Regions from separate parts of the Homo sapiens genome. Here regions 1, 2, 4, 5, 6 and 7 are each linked to region 3. Evidence: promoter capture Hi-C in 16 types of primary human blood cells and fetal thymus (Javierre and others, 2016). All regions are on one chromosome and are shown on one strand. Each heading gives the region's core, a stretch centred on a gene start or on the middle of the fragment in contact. The rest is flanking DNA. Distances are from core to core; before and after follow the strand shown. Region 1 holds the start of KLHDC9 (kelch domain containing 9). Region 2 overlaps LOC112543491 (linc-UFC1). Region 3 holds the start of SLAMF1 (signaling lymphocytic activation molecule family member 1). Region 4 holds the start of TSTD1 (thiosulfate sulfurtransferase like domain containing 1). Region 5 overlaps F11R (F11 receptor). Region 6 holds the start of ATP1A4 (ATPase Na+/K+ transporting subunit alpha 4). Region 7 holds the start of PEA15 (proliferation and apoptosis adaptor protein 15).

Evidence for each region. Contacts are between HindIII fragments. The CHiCAGO score rates a contact against its expected background, and 5 or more counts as called.
Region 1: a contact is called between the fragment with the promoter of KLHDC9 here and the fragment with the promoter of SLAMF1 in region 3, in 1 of 17 cell types (non-activated CD4 T cells). The highest score is 5.4, in non-activated CD4 T cells.
Region 2: a fragment that was not itself captured here is called in contact with the fragment with the promoter of SLAMF1 in region 3 in 2 of 17 cell types (fetal thymus and activated CD4 T cells); the score reaches 7.3 in fetal thymus.
Region 4: a fragment that was not itself captured here is called in contact with the fragment with the promoter of SLAMF1 in region 3 in 4 of 17 cell types (fetal thymus, non-activated CD4 T cells, activated CD4 T cells and 1 more); the score reaches 8.0 in fetal thymus.
Region 5: a contact is called between a fragment that was not itself captured here and the fragment with the promoter of SLAMF1 in region 3, in 6 of 17 cell types (non-activated CD4 T cells, total CD8 T cells, total B cells and 3 more). The highest score is 7.9, in non-activated CD4 T cells.
Region 6: the fragment with the promoter of ATP1A4 here is called in contact with the fragment with the promoter of SLAMF1 in region 3 in 7 of 17 cell types (M2 macrophages, erythroblasts, M0 macrophages and 4 more); the score reaches 11.2 in M2 macrophages.
Region 7: a fragment that was not itself captured here is called in contact with the fragment with the promoter of SLAMF1 in region 3 in 2 of 17 cell types (fetal thymus and total B cells); the score reaches 5.6 in fetal thymus.

The regions. Positions count from the first base shown.
Region 1 is chr1:161,096,647-161,099,615 of GRCh38, forward strand. It overlaps KLHDC9 (kelch domain containing 9), which reads left to right and starts at 1,715. Exons shown (of 4, transcript NM_152366.5): 1 at 1,715-2,416; 2 at 2,700-2,859; 3 at 2,952-2,969. The coding sequence starts at 1,890. RefSeq lists silencers at 1,849-2,028, 2,089-2,138. The HindIII fragment of the contact is 8,697 bases long and covers 870-2,969 here.
Region 2 is chr1:161,136,056-161,138,755 of GRCh38, forward strand. It overlaps LOC112543491 (linc-UFC1), which reads left to right. Exons shown (of 1, transcript NR_156734.1): 1 at 1-1,887. Among named protein-coding and RNA genes, the nearest start is that of DEDD, 4.7 kb to the left of the region's middle. The HindIII fragment of the contact is 628 bases long and covers 972-1,599 here.
Region 3 is chr1:160,645,299-160,648,310 of GRCh38, forward strand. It overlaps SLAMF1 (signaling lymphocytic activation molecule family member 1), which reads right to left and starts at 1,746. Exons shown (of 7, transcript NM_003037.5): 1 at 1,572-1,746. The coding sequence starts at 1,647. LOC107985220 (a long non-coding RNA gene) reads left to right here and starts at 1,711. Exons shown (of 2, transcript XR_001738266.2): 1 at 1,711-2,037; 2 at 2,175-3,012. RefSeq lists enhancers at 1,578-1,787, 1,828-1,877. The HindIII fragment of the contact is 11,196 bases long and covers 1,718-3,012 here.
Region 4 is chr1:161,038,638-161,041,526 of GRCh38, forward strand. It overlaps TSTD1 (thiosulfate sulfurtransferase like domain containing 1), which reads right to left and starts at 327. Exons shown (of 4, transcript NM_001113207.2): 1 at 243-327; 2 at 1-36. The coding sequence starts at 252. It overlaps USF1 (upstream transcription factor 1), which reads right to left. Exons shown (of 11, transcript NM_007122.5): 7 at 2,687-2,774; 8 at 2,177-2,235; 9 at 1,939-2,033; 10 at 1,565-1,693; 11 at 614-1,372. The coding sequence ends at 1,283. RefSeq lists an enhancer at 256-305. The HindIII fragment of the contact is 832 bases long and covers 835-1,666 here.
Region 5 is chr1:161,008,873-161,011,784 of GRCh38, forward strand. All of the region lies in intron 1 of F11R (F11 receptor), which reads right to left. Among named protein-coding and RNA genes, the nearest start is that of F11R, 11 kb to the right of the region's middle. The HindIII fragment of the contact is 3,097 bases long and covers 1-2,912 here.
Region 6 is chr1:160,150,170-160,152,869 of GRCh38, forward strand. ATP1A4 (ATPase Na+/K+ transporting subunit alpha 4) reads left to right here and starts at 1,434. Exons shown (of 22, transcript NM_144699.4): 1 at 1,434-2,018. The coding sequence starts at 1,872. The HindIII fragment of the contact is 4,407 bases long and covers 1-2,700 here.
Region 7 is chr1:160,205,149-160,208,135 of GRCh38, forward strand. It overlaps PEA15 (proliferation and apoptosis adaptor protein 15), which reads left to right and starts at 236. Exons shown (of 4, transcript NM_003768.5): 1 at 236-374. PEA15-AS1 (PEA15 antisense RNA 1) reads right to left here. Exons shown (of 5, transcript NR_123725.1): 3 at 190-1,228. RefSeq lists a silencer at 92-351. The HindIII fragment of the contact is 1,737 bases long and covers 828-2,564 here.

The DNA.
Region 1 (2,969 bases), core at 465-2,964, 450 kb after region 3:
CCCATTTCTATCCAGGAAAGGCAGAAAGTAAGTCTAACAGAACAGCCAAGACTTAGGCAAAAGCAAGAGCCTAAAATGGACATATAGGCCAATAAGGTTTAAGCAAAATTGCCCCACCCCTGAGGCAAGCCCTTGCCTAATCCTAGGAGTATGACAGATCTGAATCCAGCTGTTGGGAGGTTAGCCAGTGAGAAAGAAGCCTGAGGGAAAAGACTGACTTTTAAATTTCAGCCAAGGACAGTAAAAGTTAGTGATTTTTTAGAGATTCTTACCATGATTTTGGAAAACTGAGAATACTGCCTGTCATACTCAGGGAAAGCTATAGTTGGGAGGGCAGAGACTTTCAAAGCTATTGTTGAATCTTGGCTTTAAGGTACAGGTGGGGAACAGGTCCTGGTAATCTTCCAATCTCTGTAACTGTGCCTTTCCTGCCCATGCCATCCCCATGCTGTGTTCTCTGAGGACCAAGAGTTGGGAAGAGGAGGGGAAAGCCCTGCTGTGCTATCAGACCCTGCATTACATGCCCATCCTCACTGCAGCCCTGGCCACTGTCTCCTTTCTTCCTTTCTTTATTTCTTTTCTTTTTTTCTTTCTTTCTTTCGCCAGGGTCTCACTATGTTACCCAGGCTGGTCTTGAACTCCTGAACTCCTGGCCTCAAGTGATTCTCCTGCCTGGCCACTTTCTATGGTCTCAGTATCTCAGGTATGATGGGGAGCAAGGTGATGTGTAGAAACCAAAGGCCACAAGTAGCAGTCATCATTCCCACTTACAGCCCAGTCCCAGAGGACACAGATCCTGTTTTTGCCCCACACCAGCTGTGTTGGGAGGAAAATTCTGTCTGTATTTCCTCCTTCAGCTGAAAGCAGAAAGCTTGCATCTGGGCCTCTTCAGTTATCACTTGGTCCTGGGGGACAGAGTTAATATCTGGAAACTGGCTTAAATAAAAGATATCAGGGAAGGGTAGGAGTCTGTTTTTCTCATTTTCTCACTCTTCCCCCACTTCACCCTTCTAAGGCTGCGTGGGTTCTCTCTCTCTCTCTATCTCTCTCTCTCTCTCTCTCTCTCTCTCTCTCTCTCTCTCTCTCTCTCTGTGTGTGTGTGTGTGTGTGTGTGTGTGTGTGTGTGTGTGTCACCTGAGAGACTGGGTTCTGCTACCCTCTAGTGGCCAGAGCTGAAAGGACTCTCCCACCCAATCAATCGGGACCTTCAAGCCTTTGGGAATAAACGAACAGCCTATTTGATGAATGACAAAACTGAGAAGGCCTAGAGAGAAACAATGCCTTTGAGGGTCAGGGGCATAGTTGGGACTAGAACCCAGGTCTCCTGTCTCTCGGGCCAGTGGTCAGTCCACTTTCACTTCCCCACCCTCTGACTTTTGCTTCTCCTTCCTTGCTCATCCCTGGGGTGGTTAGCCCGAGTAAGAAACCCTGAAGCCAAATGATCCCTCCCGGCCCTAGTGGAGCAGCACCTGCACCTCAAATGTCAAAATCGCAAATCAGTTCACAGCGGAGATCACAGGGGTTTATTCTAAGGACCCGACTGTCCTCCGACTTTCTGAGGTTAACAATCTTGCAGGATTTTTATTGACCTGATACAGCTCCCGTAGCCTTGGTGGCACCACCATACGGTTCCCGATAGCCACCCAGGTGTCCTGTCTCCACGGTAACTGCTGCTTTGCGACCTTCGGTTTGCAGCGGTCGCGCTGCAGCCGCTGCAGTGGTTGCTGGGCGACCACGGAGAGAAAGCCGGGACTTGAGGTGGGAACCCCGGCTGGCGTCCGGTAGGGGGAGGTTCCCGGGGAAGCCCGCGGAAGGCGAGGTGCCTGGCCTGCCATGTAGGGGCTCGTTCCAAGCCGCAGACCCCACCGCCCTCCCTCTCCCCGGGGCCCATGGCGGTGGCCGTGCCCCCGGGTCGGGCCGCAGGCTCAGGCTGGGCCTGGAGGCCAGTGGCGCGGGACGCGCTTTTGGCTAGAGCTTTCCATTCATGCACCGAACTGCGGGGACGGTTCTATCTCGTAGGTGGTCTCCTAGCAGGAGGAGCGAGAGAGCCCAGCAGCGATACGGTGGTTTTCGACCCAGCTAGGGGCCAGGCCGTACGATTGGGAGCCCGGGGCAGCCCCCCGCGCAGTCACCACGACGCGGCACCCGTGGACGGGCGTTGGCTCTGCGTGGTGGGCGGCTGGGACGGGTCTCGCCGCTTGGCCACAGTGACCGCACTGGACACAGAGCGCGGTGTGTGGGAGGCGTGGACAGGGACCCCTGGTGACTGCCCCCCCGCCGGCCTCAGTAGTCACACCTGCACCCGAATCTCTGACCGAGAGCTGCAGGTGGCTGGCCGGGAGGGCGGTATCCACACTCAGCGACGCTATGGAAGCATCTACACATTAAGGCTGGACCCCAGCGCCCGCACCTATTGGTATGGCACCCTCCGCCCAAAACCTTTCACTCTCATCCACACTCTCGAAAAACAAAAGCCTAAGCAGATTTCTCAGGCAATTTATCCACCTCCTCACTCTAGCACCCTCCTTCCAGGGGAACCTACCATGTTTAAGCTAGCTGAGCTCTCTACAGTATTACCCTCCCTCTTATCCCACCTACCGCACTGCCCCATGCCTCTTCTCCATCCATCCTTGGCAAGGGCGGTGGCACTTACATTTTCCAGAAAACCCACTCAGCCCTGAATTTCTGCATGTCCACAGCTACAAGCAAGAAGGCTGCCACACAGCCTCACGCTCAGGTCACTGTGCGGCCCTGCTCCAAACTCCTGGACCCCATCCAGGTCATCAGCTATTGCTCTTTGGAGGTTGCAACTTAGCTGAACCAGAAGTAGCTGGGCATTGGAGTCATGGGAAAATTAAGGTATTAGCTCCTCACACATCTTGTTTAGGATGGGAAGAGGCTAAAATTGTGATGCCCAGGTCTCTTCGGACAGTCCTTTCTTTCTCCCCAAGGAGGAACCACCTGTTGCT
Region 2 (2,700 bases), core at 36-2,535, 490 kb after region 3:
GAGCTCTTGGAGAATCTTTGAAAAGGAACAGCGAGTGAAGAAGAAGAAAACCTGGGAGATAATTGTCACAGAATCAAAGGGAAGAGTATTTCAAGGGGGTGGATGTTGAAAGTGTCAGATGTCCCCACAGAGGCAGCTGATAGGAAAGGTGCTCTTACCTCTGAACCTAGGTTTCTTGGAAGCTTGGCACAAGAGTCAAATCCAGATCTTGAACCTTTCCCCAAGTATCACTGGGCAGTACAACCCCCAGGCTATTCTGCCCTTATGCATCATGGCTGCCAGTCCCAGTCTTTCAGTGAGTCTTCAAGTCAACACCAGCCAGTGCTGGCACCATCAATCTTACTACACTTAATAATGATACCCTGGCTGGGTGTGGTGGCTCACACCTGTAATCCCAATACTTTGGCCAGGAGTTCAAGATCAGCCTGGGCAACATAGTGAGAGACCCCATTTCTACAAAATTTTTTTTTAATTAGGTGGGTGTGCACTTGCCTGTAGTCCCAGCTATTTGGGAGGCTGAGGTGGGAGGATCACCTGAGACTGAGGAGTTTGAGGTTGCAGTGAGTCCTGATGGCACCATTGCACTCCAACCTGAGTGACATAGCGAGACCCTGTTTCAAAAAAAAAGAAGAAGAATGCTACCCTCTCCCAGTCCTTACTATGGCCCTGAAGCTGCCATCAACAAAAACCTGTTTTTCTAGAAATGGTGAAATTAAGGAATTGAAAGTGGGAGTATTCGTTGGAGTTGGAGGTCAGGAACTAACTGTATTTTTCATGGGTTTTTGTAAAACCTCCCAGGATGATAGTAAGAGTTGGCACAAAAAGAGGTTAATAGGTGCTGAAGGCTGGGTTTGGAGGATCACTTGAGCCCAGGAGTTTGAGGCTGCAGTGAGCTATGATTATTGCCACTGCACTACAAAAAGAAAAAGAAAAAAAAAAGGTGTTAAAGGGCAGTAAAGCCAGATGGCATAAGCTTCAAAGGGAGAAGAATTTTTGCAAGAGGATGGAAGCACAGTGGTCTAAAAGTAGCAGTGGGTAGCAAAGAGAAAGCTGATACCTTGCCACGCCTTCCTACAGGAGCAAGAATAAACAGCCTGTAGAAGGTTGAAGGGAAAAGGTGTTCATTAATTGGGGAAAGTAAAAAATTTCTACCTCACCTCTGACCATTTTTTCCTCTATACCCACTGGAACACTTTTCTTTTGTAAACAATCTCCCTTATGTATTCATTGTCTTCGTAGATTGCTCCTTAGCTTTTCCTAGAGGAATAGCCATCAGGACAGAGGTAGCTGTGATGTGTGGAATGCAGATGTAATCCACATAAGCCCGCAAAAAAGACAGACACAGGCACTACTTCTTAAAGGAGAATAATATTCTCCCTCCGTATCCATATTCTGAAGTGGTTTGACACTCAGTAGTCTTGGCACCATGATGGTAATTCCTTTCCATGAACCCACCTCTCCTCTCCAAACCTAACCCAATTCCATTCAGAGGATTAGAGAAAGCTGAGGATTGCCTTTTCTAGTCATAGTATGATGTCCAGTCTGCTTATTGCAACCAATGGGGAAGAGAACAGATCACTTTCTTCACTGAGAATGGAAAGCTTAGCCAGGCACGGTGGCTCATGCCTGTAATCCCAGCACTTTGGGAGGCTGAGGCAGGAGGATCACTTGAGGTCAGGAGTTCGAGACCAGCCTGGCCAACATGTTGAAACGCCATCTCTACTAAAAAATAAACAAATTAGCTGGGTGTGGTGGCATGCACTTGTAATCCCAGCTACTCGGGAGTCTGAGGCAGGAGAATTGCTTGAACCTGAGAGGTGGAAGTTGCAGTAAGCCAAGATCACGCCACTGTACTCCAGCCTGGGCAACAGAATTGAACTCTGTCTCAAAAAAAAAGAATGGAAAGGTGAAGGAAGGGCTGAGATTTGCCTTCATTAGGCCTTCCAAAGTAATCTGTCTTCCCCTGCAGGACTCACAGAACTCAGTTCTTTTCCCTGGGGCCAGACTTCAATGACCAAATTTTCCAAATTCCAAACATTGGGACAGTTGCCTGGCCAGCTGTTCCTAAACTAGTCAGTTTATTTGGAGGGATATTTTCTGCTTGGGGAGCCCTGGAAGTTCACTCTTTCAACATGAAGTCCTAAGATCGTAACGCCAACAAAGAGAGCTGTGCAGATTTCCTGAGCTAAGCCAAAGGGACCTCCTGTGTAGAGATGGGCACCCTCATGTCCATCACTGAGAAAAAAATATTTCAAACAGTTTAGAGTTTTTTGTTAGCTATAGCTAGACTGCTGTTCCTCCTTAGCTTAAACTATACATCATCTGTACAGTTAAAACAAAAACTTCATCTCTTGCCTTATGAACCACCCTCTCCTTAATTCAACTAAAAACTTGGGGGAACTTCCTCTGAGAAGATTGAGAACCCTGTGTAGAATTCTCTTGCGGAAGTCCTCTGCTTGTTATGTTTCTTCCTTTACATTAGTTCCTGTCTCTTCCTCAGCTGAGAAAACATCCCTCCAGCTTTCAAAGACTGGCCCCTTCAGCTCTATCCTGATGCCCATCCTTTTCTACTTATCAAAACACTACTCCCACAGTTACCTCTTCCTTCACTGGAATCTGTAACCTGGAACCCTTCAGCTATCCACAGGCTCACATTTCCACTGTGTCCTTAACTGTAGTTTTCAACTCCCTGTAATTCTC
Region 3 (3,012 bases), core at 496-2,995:
TTTATTGGGGCTTCACAAAAGGGTGTGTATTTAAAAATAAAAACACTGAAAAACTTTTGTGAAGATTCAAAGAAGAAAACATGCAATGAAGTGAGCAGCCTCCGATTGGATAGACTTGCCTTGTGGGGCTGGGTTGCTTCTCCCTGACCGGCGACTTCCAAAGCCTCAATAAGACGAGCTATTGGTCAGCAGTGCCTAAGATGCTATGGGCCAGGCTGGCCAAGAGGCTAGCAAGCACAGAGATGGAAAAGTCCAGTTCACAGTTCAGCACCATCACTCCATCACACCTTACAGTCACCAAGAGGTGCTCCAGAAATGGTGCAGTCACAAATTGGTTGCAACAACGGAGGCTTGGCTTTCCCTGTGACCACTTAAAGTGGCTCGATTTGGTTTTCTGAGCCCCGAGCTCAGTTCTTCCTCCCCTAGACCTTGGGAAGTACGAGCCATGGATCTGCAGATTCCAAAAGAAAGTGGGCTGAGCAAGCCCTGTTCGTCTGGCTGTCTGGTAAAAGACACATCCATTGTGCAGCACCCCCACATCCCTGGCATATCACGGTGCTTTTCCTGGAAAAGTCCATATTGGATTTGCGGTCTTGAAAACCCCAAGCTTAAAACACCCTGGGCCTCAGGATTTCCCCCCGTGTCCGTAATGCCACCTCTTCTACTCCAGGCTACCTCCCACAGTCTAAACAAATAAGCAGAAGGAGATTCTCACCCCACTCACACAGGCAGTCCAAAGTCCACTTCTTGCTTGGCTTTTTCTTTCTCAAATACCTTTTCTCATAGCCCTGATACTTCTAAACAGAAAGCAATAGCCTGCCTTGGGAAGAAGATAGACAGAAAGACAGGAACAGAGTCCAGATCCAAAGGTAGCTCTTGTCTGGCCTTCCTGCTGGAGCTACTCTCTGAGGGTTCCCAATTTGCATTTCCCACATACTGTAACCAGCCCTAGCCTTCAGAAATCCCAACTTCTTCCCTCTTGCTTTCTTGGACCTTCTCTTCCAAGAAAATACACACCAGTATGACCGCACTGTGGCCACTGCTGGTTCTCAGCCAAAAGCCTGGAGTTTTCACTTCTACTCTCTCTTCCCACTCTAGCCAATGCTTTCTGTTGACCCATGCTCCTGGTTTGTCAGCCTGCATGTGCACAGATTCCCTCCCAGGGCAGGGATGTAGGGCAAATCTTCTCCCAGAGCTCAGTCCATCCAGCTCAGTCTCTCTAGGCTGGGTCTTTGCCAGAAGATGCCCATGTAAAACCAACCACTCAAGCAAGACTTCTACCAGGGCCTGTCACCCTAAGACTGGTCAGAAAAGTGACTGGAGCCTTTGGCTTAGAGCCCCTCATTTCCTTGGAAACTGGGGTTGGTGGGGCTGAGTCTTGGAAACCCAAGGGCCCAGGAACTTATAATGTTCCTTCCTCTTTGAAAGAGGCAGTTGAAACTGACAGCCAGTCCCTAAGGAAGAGTGACCAAACACAATACCCAGCCCTGCACCTTCTCTCCATCCACGAAGATACGCTGATTCCTGGCAGCTAACATGGGACTCAAACCATCAGGCAGATGAACACTCACCTGTTCCGTAGCTTGCCCCAAAAGCCAGGGAGAGAAACAGCACGAAGGTCAAGGAGAGGAGCCCCTTGGGATCCATCAGCCAATGAGGAGAAGGAAGGGATCCTGGCCGGAGCCTGGCAGCTGCTCACAGATGCCAGGCAGAAGCAAGCTTCGTGTCATGCAGCAGAGGCTGTCTGATTTATGTATCAGGAACCAGCAGGTTCCTGAACCCGCTTCCTGTATCACTGGGACTTTTTCTGCTTGTGTCTTGAGGATTGCTCATCTCCCATGAGGCTTTAAATCACTTTTTTGTTCTCAAGAAGCAGGCTTCTCAAGAAGCCAGGCACTTAGCCTATGGGAGCCAGGAAAGGGGGTGTGTAGTCACCTCGGCCAAAACCCGGCTTTGGGCAGAAACATGCGCCCCAGCTTCTTTCCTTAGCTGTCTCCAGGAACCGGATGTTGCAGATTCTCTGAGCAGTTCTCTCCGGTAAGTCTTCTTGGATTGCAAAGAAAAGATGTTTCATTGGATCACTCCTCAAATTTGGCAGTTCACAGCTGAACTTAGATAACTGCATTTTGATGAGCTAATAGACCTCTTACTTCTGTTTTATTTCATAATTTCAGATGACACCTCAACATGCAGTCTGGTGCAGGTGCCACTGTCACACAGAGATGGGAAGGGCATGTGCGGGTCACTTGGAAGAAACCCTGTGACCCCGATGAGTGCAATGTGGTATAATTTAGTAGCCCATGCTCCTAGTTTGTCTTCTTGCATGTGTGTGGATTCCCTCCCAGGCAGGGATGTAGGACAAATCTATCCCAGAGCTCCATCCTTCCAGCTCAGTCTCCTTGTTGTGTGTGTGTTTTCTCCTCTAATTTTTAACGTCTGTGGGTACATAGTAGATATACATATATGTGTGTGTGTGTGTGTGTGTGTGTGTGTGTGTGTGTGTGTGTGTATGTATATATATATGTATGGGGTATGCATATATTTGTATGGGGTATATGAGATATGTTGATAGAGGCATGCAATATGTAATAATCACACAGGGTAAATGGGATATCCATCACCTCAAATATTTATCCTTTGTGTTACAAACAGTGCAATTATATTTTTATTTTTAAATGTGCAATTAAATTATTATTGACTATAGTCACACTGTTGTATTATCAAATACTAGTTCTTATTCATTCTTTCTATTTTTTTGTACCCATTAACCATCCCCACTTCTTCCCCAACCCCCACTACCCTTCAGCCTCTGGTAACCATCCTTCTACTCTCTATGCCCACAAGTTCAATTGTTTTAATTTTTACCTCTCACAAGCAAGTGAGAACGTGCAAAGTTTGTCTGTCTGTGCCTGGCTTATTTCACGTAACATAATGATCTTCAATTCCATCCATGTCATTGTGAATGACAGGATCTAATTCTTTTTTAGCTGAATAGTACTTCATTGTGTATAT
Region 4 (2,889 bases), core at 1-2,500, 390 kb after region 3:
GGAGTGAACGGAGTTCAGGAAGCGAGACCGTGGGCGCTGAGGAAGGGGCGCGACAGCCTTCAGGAAGAGGGGGCCTAGGAGTCACGGCCGCCATGGCATCCCCTCACCTGGCAGCGCCCCTCCCGGTAGGGTGTGCACGAAGACCCCTCAGCCACGCCCCTTCGCTCCGCCACCCCACTCCCTGCCACGCCTCAACCCAGAGGACCAAGAGAACCGCGGCCCCAGGAATCCCCCGCAGGTACCTCCAGCCATGGTGCGCGTAGCAACCGCGAGTCTCCGGAGTGCGGCCCTGGCCCGCCCTCTCGGCGCCTGCAACATCTCCCGTTCCCTCCCAGAGCTGAGACCGGATCCGGAAGCAAGGGCACCGCCTCCCGCGCCGCCCCCGCAGCACCTGTTCGCGGCGCCTCTAGCACCAACCCACCGCAGAAGCCCTTAACATTCTCTAGCTTGGGCCAAAAACGACACACCGGTCTGGCCCAGGAACCAGGACTCCGGGTAATAAATGCAGGAGCAGCACCCCACCCTGAACTTGGCACAGCCCTTACTGGTCGAAGAGCAATGTGCCCCTCCCTTCCAGCCCGTGGCCCACAAAAGGAAGAAAAACAGACAACTGTGGCTTTGAACAATTTTATCTTAAAAAAAAAAAAAAAAAAAAAAAAAAAAGAAAAGAAAAAAAAAAAACGACCCCCACAAGGGGGAAGGCCCCAAGTGGGCCCCTGCCTGTTGTTCTCTCTGGCTCCAGAGATGTCTGCATAGGCCTCAGCTTCTCACTGGCCAATCTCCTCTTCATGGGCACCAGCCACTGCTAAACATCCTTCCCTCACTTCTTGTGTAAGCTTGCTCCCCTGAGCCACAGGTTGCACATCTAAACCTCAGCTCCAGGGAAAGGAAGAACCAATGGAAGTGCCAGAGTCCTGGGGCAAGCCAGAGCATCACCTGTCAGCAAACCTCTGCTGGGCACTCTAAGCAAGCACAGGACAAGCCCCAGAGTTTAGTGTGTCCAGTATCCAGCATGGAGACAGCACATGCATTGTGCGAGAGGAGCACAAGGGCCCAGGGGCTGCATGGTGGGGGTGGGCAAGGCTGTCAGTGCACGTCCACATTGTGTGTTTCACACCACTGCAGGCCGCCATATCACAGGGCCTCAGTTCAAGGACACACCTTCTGAACTTCCCCCTGTCCCATGCCAGAAGTGGGGCAGTGAAGGAAAGGGGCACGGGATTAGGCTGTTGCTCCTGGGCTATCTGCAGTTCTTGGGCCCAAAGCCCCTGAATCCCCATAGTTAGTTGCTGTCATTCTTGATGACGACCTCTAATCCGTGGTGCCGCAACTGAGCTCGAAGCAGCAGATTCTTGTTTTTAAGATCTTCCACCTGACATGGGAAGGAGGCAGTAAAGGGAATGGGTAGTAAAGCTGGCACTTCCAAGCCCCTGAATGTATTCAGACATCCACTGGTGAGGGGGAAAAGATGAAGCCTTCTCCATGGAGAACAAAGTAGAGGGTGTCAAACTGGGTCAGTGGCTAGCAGAACTGAGAAGGGCTGCACTGGGGGTAGGAGTCTGACCTGTTGTCGAAGCACGTCATTGTCCAGCTGCAGTTGGTCAAGTCCCTGCAGTTCTTCAGACAAGCGGTGGTTACTCTGCCGAAGCTCCTGGATATAATCACAAGCTTTGGATAGAATCCCACCTTTACTCTGCAAGATAAGGTCAACAAAATGAGAACTAGGATTTCAGATACCCAGCTTGCTTTCCAAAAGTAGGTTCACACTTTGGACCTCATTTTCATCTAAGGAAGGTGGTATAATATCTCCCAGGGATACAGGAACCTCAGGGAGAGATAAGACTACTGTCATGTGTGCCCCTCTCTCTACCATTTCTGGAAACAATACCAGGAGGCAGAATTCAGGCATCCTGCCCACTACCAGGGTCTTTCCATGACCTGGCCAGACTTGGTGCTCTCCATAGAGCAGTCTGGGATTATCTTGGAGAGCTGCACGATCCAGTTGTTGATCTTGTCTCGGCGGCGACGCTCCACTGTGGGGCAAAGTGGAGGACAAGGTGACTCAGTGAAAACTCGCCACAAGTCCCAGGGTAAAATTACCTAATCCCTCCTCCCCTCAGACATCACTGCTGAGATCACACCAGACAGCTTCTAGCTCCACCCAGATCATACCTACCTTCATTATGCTGAGCCCTGCGTTTCTCATCCCGAGTCGTCCGGGGAGCTTCTGACTTCCTGACAACAGAGCCCAGGGTGGCCAGAGTAAGAAGACAAAATACATGATTGAAGTTTGGGGTTAAGGAATTATACAAGATTTAGCAGGTATTAGGACCACTTATGGTAGCTAGGTGTGGTGTCTCACACCTGTAATCCCAGCACTTTGGGAGGCCGAGGCAGGCGGATCACTTGAGGTCAGGAGTTCGAGACCAGCCTGGCCAACATGGTGAAACCCTGTCTCTACTAAAGATACAAAAATTAGCCAGGGGTGGTGGTACATGTCTGTAGTTCCAGCTACTCAGGAGGCTGAGGCATGAGAAACGCTTGAACCCTGGAAGCAGAGGTTGCAGTGAGCTGAGATCATGCCACTGCACTCCAGCCTGGGTGACAGAGCAAGACTCTGTCTCAAAAAAAAAAAAAAAAAAAAAAAACCACTTACGGAATCTGAGAAGAAACAAGGGTCACTCACGGGGAATAAGGGTGAGTCCTAGGGGCAATTGAGCGCTGGCTTCCTCCCTGCAGTACTTCTTGTGGTGACATCATCACAAAGAATTGACCTGTGAAGATGCAGGGTAGGTTCTGTCAGGACATGGGTAGGAACCTCACCAAGCCCTGAGGTGAAGACCCTGGTCCCCTCCTCTAAAAAGAACATGCTAATAGAAGAGCAGCCCC
Region 5 (2,912 bases), core at 258-2,757, 360 kb after region 3:
ATTTTTCTGCAAGCTAAGAAAGTTCCAATAATCCCTATACTCTGCCAAACGCCCACCTCCCTCTCTCCCACCAGGAAGTGCTGGAAGAAAGTTCCAGCACTATCTGACCCCTTGATAAGGTTATCATCTTCATCACCCACTCTACTGTTGCAATTTACCCTCTAGCAATACAAAACTACTTAAAATTCCTAGCAAAGTCTGGGCTGTTTCACAATCTCTGCCTTTGCTCATGCTATTTCTGCTATGTAGAACACCCTTTTCCCCCTCTTTATCTGGGCAGCAGTATTCATCCACATTATTTTCTGGAAAACGACCTCCCACATGCCCAGTCCTCACCATAGCCTCACCTAAGCCTCTTTCCTAGGCTTTAATTATCCCATGCAAAACACTGTCAAAGCAATTCCCACATTATAATGACATCATCTGTGTACAAGCATGTCTCCCATGGTAAACCCCAAGTGAAAAGGGACCATGTGTTATTTAATATTCTGAGTATCCCACACTTAGCATAATAAAACTGGTACAAGTTGACATTCAATAAATGTTTTCTCAGCCTGGGCAACACAGTGAGACCCCCATCTGTACCAAAAAAAAAAAAAAATTAATCAGCTGCAGTCATGCACGCCCATGAACGCCTATAACACTGAGGATGTAATTCCTGGAAATTACTACGTACCTGAATAATAATAATGAAACAACTGTGGCAAATAGTATTTTCCAAAACAGCCACATCTATCTATATATTTATCTCCTCCCCCATGCTCTACTTACATTGTGACTGAGGTGGAGTCTAAGTTAAGTTTCCTCCCCATGGGCCGGGTGCGGTGGCTCACGCCTATAATCCCAGCACTTTGGGAGGCCGATGTGGGTGGATTGCTTGAGGTCAGAAGTTTAAGACCAGCCGGGCCAACATGATAAAAATTACAAAAATTAGCCAGGCATGGTGCATACCTGTAGTCCCAGCTACTTGGGAGGCTGGAGAACCACTTGAGCCCAGGAGGTGGAGGCTGCAGTGAGCTGATATGGTGCCACTGTACTTAGTCTGGATGACAGAGCAAGACTCTGTCTCAAAAAAAAAGTTTCCTCCCCATGAATCTGGGAGGGTCTTATGATTGACAATGGCATAATGGTAGAAGTGGCATATTATTAATGTTAGGCCTTATATGCATTTTCTCACTAAACTCTTAAAAAAAAAAAAAACCTATGAGACAAGTACCATTGAAGATTGAAGTACTACCGTTACCATTTCATTTTACAGATGAAAAAACTGAGGCTTAGAACAGTTGACCCAGGCCAGGCATAGTGGCTCACACGTGTAATCCCAGAACTTTGAGAGTCCGAAGCAAGCGGATCACAAGGTCAGGAGTTCGAGACTAGCCTGGCCAACGTGGTGAAACCCCGTCTCTACTAAAAATACAAAAATTAGCTGGGCATGGTGGCAGGCGCCTGTAATCCCAGCGACTCAGGAGGCTAAGGCAGGAGAATTGCTTGAAGCCGAGAGGGGGAGGTTGCATTGAGCTGAGATTAAGCCACTGCACTCCAGCCTGGGTGACAGAGCGAGACTCCATCAAAAAAAAAAAAAAAACAGTTGATCCAAACCATATGGCTACAAATAGCAAGGTAGGAATCTTAACTCTGCCTGATTTTGAGGCTCTAAAACTATTATGCTATATGTAGCTTTATTGGACAAGCAAGGAAATCCCATGTATCTTTCAAGATCCTGTTCAAATGTCTATTGATCTCTTATACCTTTCCTCAGTCAAAATTAATCTCACCCCAATTTCTAGGAATATAGCCTAAGAAAGCAATCAAAGATAAGTTTAAATATTTTGGCTGGGTGCAGTGGCTCACGCCTGTAATCCCAGCACTTCGGGAGGCTGAGGCGGACGGATCACTTGAGGCCAGGAGTTTGAGACCAACCTGACCAAAATGGTGAAACCCCATCTGTACCAAAAATATAAAAATTAGCTGGGCGTGGTGGCAGGCACCTGAATCCCAGCTACTTGGTAGGCTGAGGCTTGAACCTGGGAGGTGGAGGTTGCAGTGAGCTGAGATTACGCCACTGCACTCCAGTCTGGGCGATAGAGTGGGACTCCATCTTAAAAAAAAAAAAAAAAAAAAAAATTCATGTACAAGAACAATTTAACGTTATTTAGGTTTCATTGTTCGTTTTTTTTGGAAACTGAGTCTTGCTCTGTCGCCCAGGCTGGAGTGCAGTGGCGCGATTGTGGCTCATGGCAACTTCCACCTCCCAGGTTCAAGAGATTCTCCTGCCTCAGCCTCTCCAGTAGCTGGGATTACAGGCACACACCACCATACCCAGCTAATTTTTGTACTTTTGATAGACACGGGGTTTCACCACATTGGCCAGGCTGGTCTCAAACTCCTGGCCTCAAGTGATCCGTCCGCCCCAGCCTCCCAAAGTGCTGGGATTACAGGCATGAACCACCATGCCCAGCCAATTTAATGTTATTTAGTATAACAAAGAAAAAAAAGAAATCTAAATGCCCAACAAAAGGTGAATAAGTAAATTATGATATAGCCATACTTTAGGAATAATGTAGAAAGGACCTTAAAGTATATTTTGGGCCAGGCGCGGTGGCTCACACCTGTAATCTCAACACTGAGAGGCCGAGACAGGTGGTCAGGAGTTCAGGACCAGCCTGGCCAAGATGGTGAAACCCCATCTCTACTAAAAATACAAAAAAATTAGCCAGGCGTAGTGGTGGGCACCTGTAATCCCAGCTACTTGGGAGGCTGAGGCAGAGAATTGCTGGAGCCCAGGAAGTGGAGGTTGCAGTGAGCTGAGATTGTGCCACTGCACTCCAACCTGGGTGACAGAGCGAGATTCCACCTCAAAAAAAAAAAAAAAGTATATTTTGTAGGAAATATAGACGTATCTCACACATTAA
Region 6 (2,700 bases), core at 184-2,683, 500 kb before region 3:
CTGAGGTGGGAGGATCACTTGGACCTGGGAGGTTGAGGCTGGAGTAAGCCATAATCGCACCATTACACTCCAGCCTGGGCAACAAAGTGAGATCCTGTCTCAAAAAGTAAATAAACAAATATCAAACAACAGAATGGGAAAATCTATGTGACGTGCATAATTGAAAAATATATATAATGGTTGACAGAAAAGTATAGATGCTTCAGATTATTCTTGGAAGGAGGTAGAATCCTATGGACATGCAAAACATATATACAGTTAATATAGTCAAAGCACTTACTGAGACACCAGAGAAGGTCAATGGAAGAGGTAAGTACATCATTTTAAAATGAGAAAATGCAACGCTATCACATGGAAAAGCATATTTTTACCCTCACTGAGAAGAGCTGCATATTAATCCACAAATAAAACTACTACTGAATTCAAGCTACCTATTGAGCACATACTATATATGTCACATAGTGCTTTTTGTAGAGCACCTCACTTAAGGTAGAAGGTATCCTCTTTTAAAAATAAGAAAAGAGAGGTACAGAGGTTAGGTAACTTGCTCAAAGCCACACAGCTGACAAGTGGAGGAGTTGGGATTGAAATCCAGGACTGGTTCCAGAGCCCAAGATCTGATCTATTCTGCTAGCTGATCTCCTAAAATTAAAAGATCAAACCCAATGTTAGTGGAAAAGTGTGCCTTGCTAAAAAACACACACAGAGTACCTGCTTTTTTTTTTTTTTTGAGATGGAGTCTCAAAAACAGACGGGAGAATATTAGTCCAAACTGCAACTGCACCATTTTGTAAGCTCCCTGCTATGGTTTTTTGTTTGTTTGTTTGTTTGTTTGTTTGTTTGTTTGTTTGTCTGAGATGGAGTCACTCTGTCACCGAGGCTGGAGTGCAGTGATGCAATCTCAATTCACTGCAACCTCTGCCTTCTGGATTCAGATGTTTCTCCTGCCTCAGCCTCCCGAGCAGCTGGGATTACAGGTGCCCACCACCACACCTGGCTAAATTTTGTATTTTTAGTAGAGATGGGGTTTCACCATACTGGCCACGAAGGTCTCGATCTCAGCCTCCCAAAGTGCTGGGATTACAGGCATGAGCCACCGCGCCCGGCCGAATACCCGCTTTATTTTTGAGTCATCTATTTGGCATACCTCTAAGCCTCCAAAGTCTGCAGGACCACACAAGAACTTTGTTCTAGTTCTGCCCTCAGACTGAAACTCTTTCTGTAGCAGGGCCTGCTCCAATCGTCCTCAAACCCAAAGACTGAGACTTCTAGGTTCTTGGTTAAAACCTTCATGAGGCCTTTGCGACAGCAGACCTGGACCATCGCCAAGGCAAGACTTCTGGATTCTTGGTTAGAACTTTCAGGAGGCCTTTGTGATGCCAGACCTGGGTCATTGCCCCAGCAACCACAGGGCCTGGGACTGGGGGGTTCCCAGATCCTTGAAGCTCACTCCGCCTCCTCACTCTCACTGCATTTCCCACCTTCCTGTGGGCCTTGCGGCATCTTCATCACTGAGGCACCTGGTTACGCTTCACCTCTTGTTTCCTGCCCTCACTGCATTCCCTCACCTCTACCTTTTTATCCTTCCACCCTAGGCTTCTCTCCTCCCTCTTCCCTCACTCCTGACTCTTCCTCTTCCCAGCGGACGGCTGGAGGACCGCTCAGTCTCTCCTCTCTCACTTCCCTTCCTCTCTCTCACCTTCACCACCCAACACCTCCCTCCCTGCCTCTTTCTTTCTGCTCCCTCATTCTCTCCCCACCACTCTCTTCTCGTGGCCCCCTTGCCCGCGCGCCCTCTTCCCTTCCCCTTGCCTCACTCTCTCAGCTTTCTTCCCACAGTTGAGCTCGGGCAGCTCTTTCTGGGGATAGCTATGGGGCTTTGGGGGAAGAAAGGGACAGTGGCTCCCCATGACCAGAGTCCAAGACGAAGACCTAAAAAAGGGCTTATCAAGAAAAAAATGGTGAAGAGGGAAAAACAGAAGCGCAATATGGAGGAACTGAAGAAGGAAGTGGTCATGGTGAGGCCACCCAAAGTGGGCGCTGACAGCTGCCCTCTGAAAACACTCCTCCACCTATCTTTAACATCTTACCTTGAGAATGAAACACACAGGCCAGAGCCACATCTCTTCTCTGTTAGGCTTTGGAGGGAAGGAGAGGGTTAAAAAAAAAAAAAAAGATACACACAGAGAGACAGGGCAGCTCAACAGCAAGCACAGGTATATTGCAGACACCTGTGGAAGTGGGGGATCAGCTTAATTCCACAGTCCACTGCCACTTACAGGCTGGGTACTTATAGGGATGGATGGGAGGAGTCTGGGCTGTATGGCCTGCTGCCTGGCAGGATATCGATAAGATGTTCTCATGATGAGGTGATTTTTGGCCCTTGTTTCCACAGAATATAATCATGGTATTCCCTGGACCTTTGCCCAGCAGGATGTGATAGGGATGTTTCTTTAGTGGGGTCTTTGTCTTTAATTGGGCCTTCGTCTGCCCTGTGGTCAGGTGGTTAGGCAGGCTGTTTCTCTGGCCCGAACCCCCGTGAAATGTTTCACTTTGACCAAGGCCTGTAAAATAGTGGGGAGCTAGGCCGGGCGTGGTGGCTCACACCTGTAATCCCAGCACTTTGGGAGGCTGAGGCAGGCAGATCACCTGAGGTCAGGAGTTTGAGACAAGCCTGGCCAACATGGTGAAACCCCGCCT
Region 7 (2,987 bases), core at 446-2,945, 440 kb before region 3:
TTAAATATGAGAATTGTTTCGCAGTTCAGGGGGAAGAGACCGTCTCCGCTCCAGCCCTCCGCCCAATTCTGTCCCCCATCCTAGGAGTCTTCCAGAACCCCAGCCCCTCGGTCCCCCGCCCCCTCCTGCCTCTCCATCCCTCCCCCTCCTCCCGCCATTCCCCGCCCCCCGCCCCTCCCCGGCTCTGACATCACCGGCCAGCCGGGTGGAGTGAGCGGCGCTGGGCTCGGGCTCCGGCTCCGCGGGCGGAAGAGGCGGCGGCGGCGGCAGAAGCGGCGGCGGCGGCGGCGGGAGCCGAGGAGGAGGTTCCGGACGCTGCTTAGGAACCGGGGACTCAGGAGTGCCCGCGCCCTGAGCGCTCAGCTCCAGAGGCGGTGAGAGGGGCGGAGAGGAGACATGTCGCGGGGAAGGGGCAGATTTCGGGGTCTAGGCTTGGAGGGGCAACGATCTGGGACACCGGGGGCCAGACGGGGAGTGTGGGGACCCCGGACGAGTCCACTTTGTGTCAGGCCTCACGGGGTCCGTCCCTCGGTCGGTGCGTCCCGAGCGCCGAGCGTGTGCTGGAGGCGGCGTGGCTCCGGCCAGCCCGTTCCACGCTGAACGGCAGTTTGGGAGTCGGACCGGGGCCTGTGGATTAGGATGCAGCCTGCTTCCCGCCCAGCCGGCTCGGCCAGGCCAGCGCCCGCCCCTCCCTCCCCGCTCAGGCTTCGGACTCGCCTCCGCTGGCGGTCTCCCGGCCCAGCCCTGTCTCGGTTCCGCGGGCGGCTGGTACCATGTGCCCTCACCCCCAGCTCACTGCACCTGGGGAAGAGGTGGGCTTGGCGGAAAGCTTGTCCAGAGGGAAGGAGGAGCTGGGGGTGTAGAGAAGTGATGTATATCTAACGTAAAAACCCTTATTAATTTCATATAATCCGTGTCAAAACTGACAGGGAAACACGCACACCTATAAGGCACGCCAGCACACACAGTGACACACACCCATGTGACTTATACACATAGTCTAGCACACTCCAAATCACAAACGTCCCTGGACTACGCATCCGGCCGCCCACCACACCCCCACTCTGTGGGGTGGGGCATCCCATGAGGAGTCTTCTGAACTGCGGGCTCCAAGTCATCAGTCCGACAGGACAGCTGAGTGGACAGAAAGGGCCACTGTCCCCAAATCCATCCTGATTTTCTGGCAGCTTTTCCCAGCCCCATGGTTTCAGATTGTTCCTCTTTAAAACTGTGGGGAAAGATGGGAGAAAATCTTGGTCTCATTCCTCTAACACAAGGAGACAGGATTTTGCGGACTAATGAGGGTAGGGGCTTCTGGTGGCTTCTCTTCCTGGGTCCAGTTAGGGCTTAGCGTGCTGGGAGTGGCTAGTTTCTGGGTAAGAGTGGCCAAGGGATGGAGGAGGAGGGGGTGGAAGAAACGGAGAGGAAAAAGAATGGGTATGAGTCAGCCAAGAATGGAACCCAAGTCAGAGAGAGAATGAGAGGAATGTGTGTGAGAAGCAGACAGACATCTCCAGAGAGGTCTAGAGATAGTCAGGGAACCAGGGAGAGGGAGGAAGTGAGAGAAAGAGATGGTCAGAGAAGTGCAAACAGTGTTTGAGAGTGCACTAAACAAATTAGGGAGGATGAAGGTTGGGGGAGACCACTGGGAGTTAGGGAAAGTGGTACGTGTGTCTGGGCCCCAGGCTGTCAGAGCGATTAGCTTTAATTGCTCTTCCCTTTGTGGTTAAATACTCCATTGGGGAAATTGCCAGTGATGCCCTAGGCTGCAGGCTTCCCTGGTTGCCTACTTCCTCAATTCCGTGCCCATCATGTGTGGATGTATTATCATGCATGAAGAGGGTCACAGAATCACAGAGCGCCTCACTCTCTCACACAGATCCTCACGCACAATGTCATGATGGATATCTTCACCAGCTGGTAGGCAGCCAACCACTGAATCTCCAAGCCACTCCGACCAAACTTACTCTGTCTTTTGTAGCAGGGATGCTCACCCCTTCCTAATTGCAGCTCCGAATATTCAGATGGGGACAGTGAAGCACAGATCTCAGGAGTCCTAAGTATTCATGGCTACCACTAAGTTGGATAGGTGAGTAGGAAATGCTAGAAGGGGTGAAAGCCTATAGAAAGGAGGAAAAGAGAGACTGAAAGATGAAGTAGAAAGGAAATGCATGACAAAGAGTGAGAGAGATGGAGAGAGACAGAAATAGAAGCAGGGAGTGCCACACCAGAAGAGTGGAAACAGAGATGGGCTGGGGAGAGTCCTAGGCCCCATTCCCCTCCTCGCCATCAGCCGGCCCTCCTCTGCTCTGCCTGATCCAGTGCCAGCTATCTCCTGATGCCCCATCTTGGGTCTGGCTCTTTCTAGACCAAGGGCTGAAGGCTAATCCTTGTCCCCATGCCCAAAGGTAATCCATTTTGCTTCTTGGACTGAAGTGAACATTTTAGGGCCCAGATGTCCTGCCTCTCGTCACTTCCAGGCTGACCCTGGAGCCTCAGAACCCTCAATTTCCTTGTTACAGGAGTAAAGACAACCCCCTCCTCCCCCACAAAGCTGGATAAAAAGCTTAAAGAAGAAATTAATTGAGAATGATATTAAAGGAAATAAACTACAGGACTGCTTGAATTTGGGGCCCAGTTATAATTTAAAATAGGAAAGCTGGACCCCTACTCTCTCCCTTCCAACCCCTCTGCCTCTCCGTGATTACTTCCAACTTCAGGCAGAAGACTGACAGACTTGAGTGCCTGGGAGTCCCCTCCTGCCCAATACAGGGACCTCTAGGTCCTTGCAGCTGTCTGGGATGGCCCCTCCCCTCAGGCTTAGGCAGCTGCAACAGATGTGGAAGAGGGACGGGCAGCAACTCTTAATCTTCAGGCTTCCTTCTCGAATTTACAGAGGATTTGGAACCAAACGTTAGAAGGGATAATCTACCACGACTTAATGTCAAAATGCACAGAAATTCTTTTGGTGCTGCCACCTCCTCCAC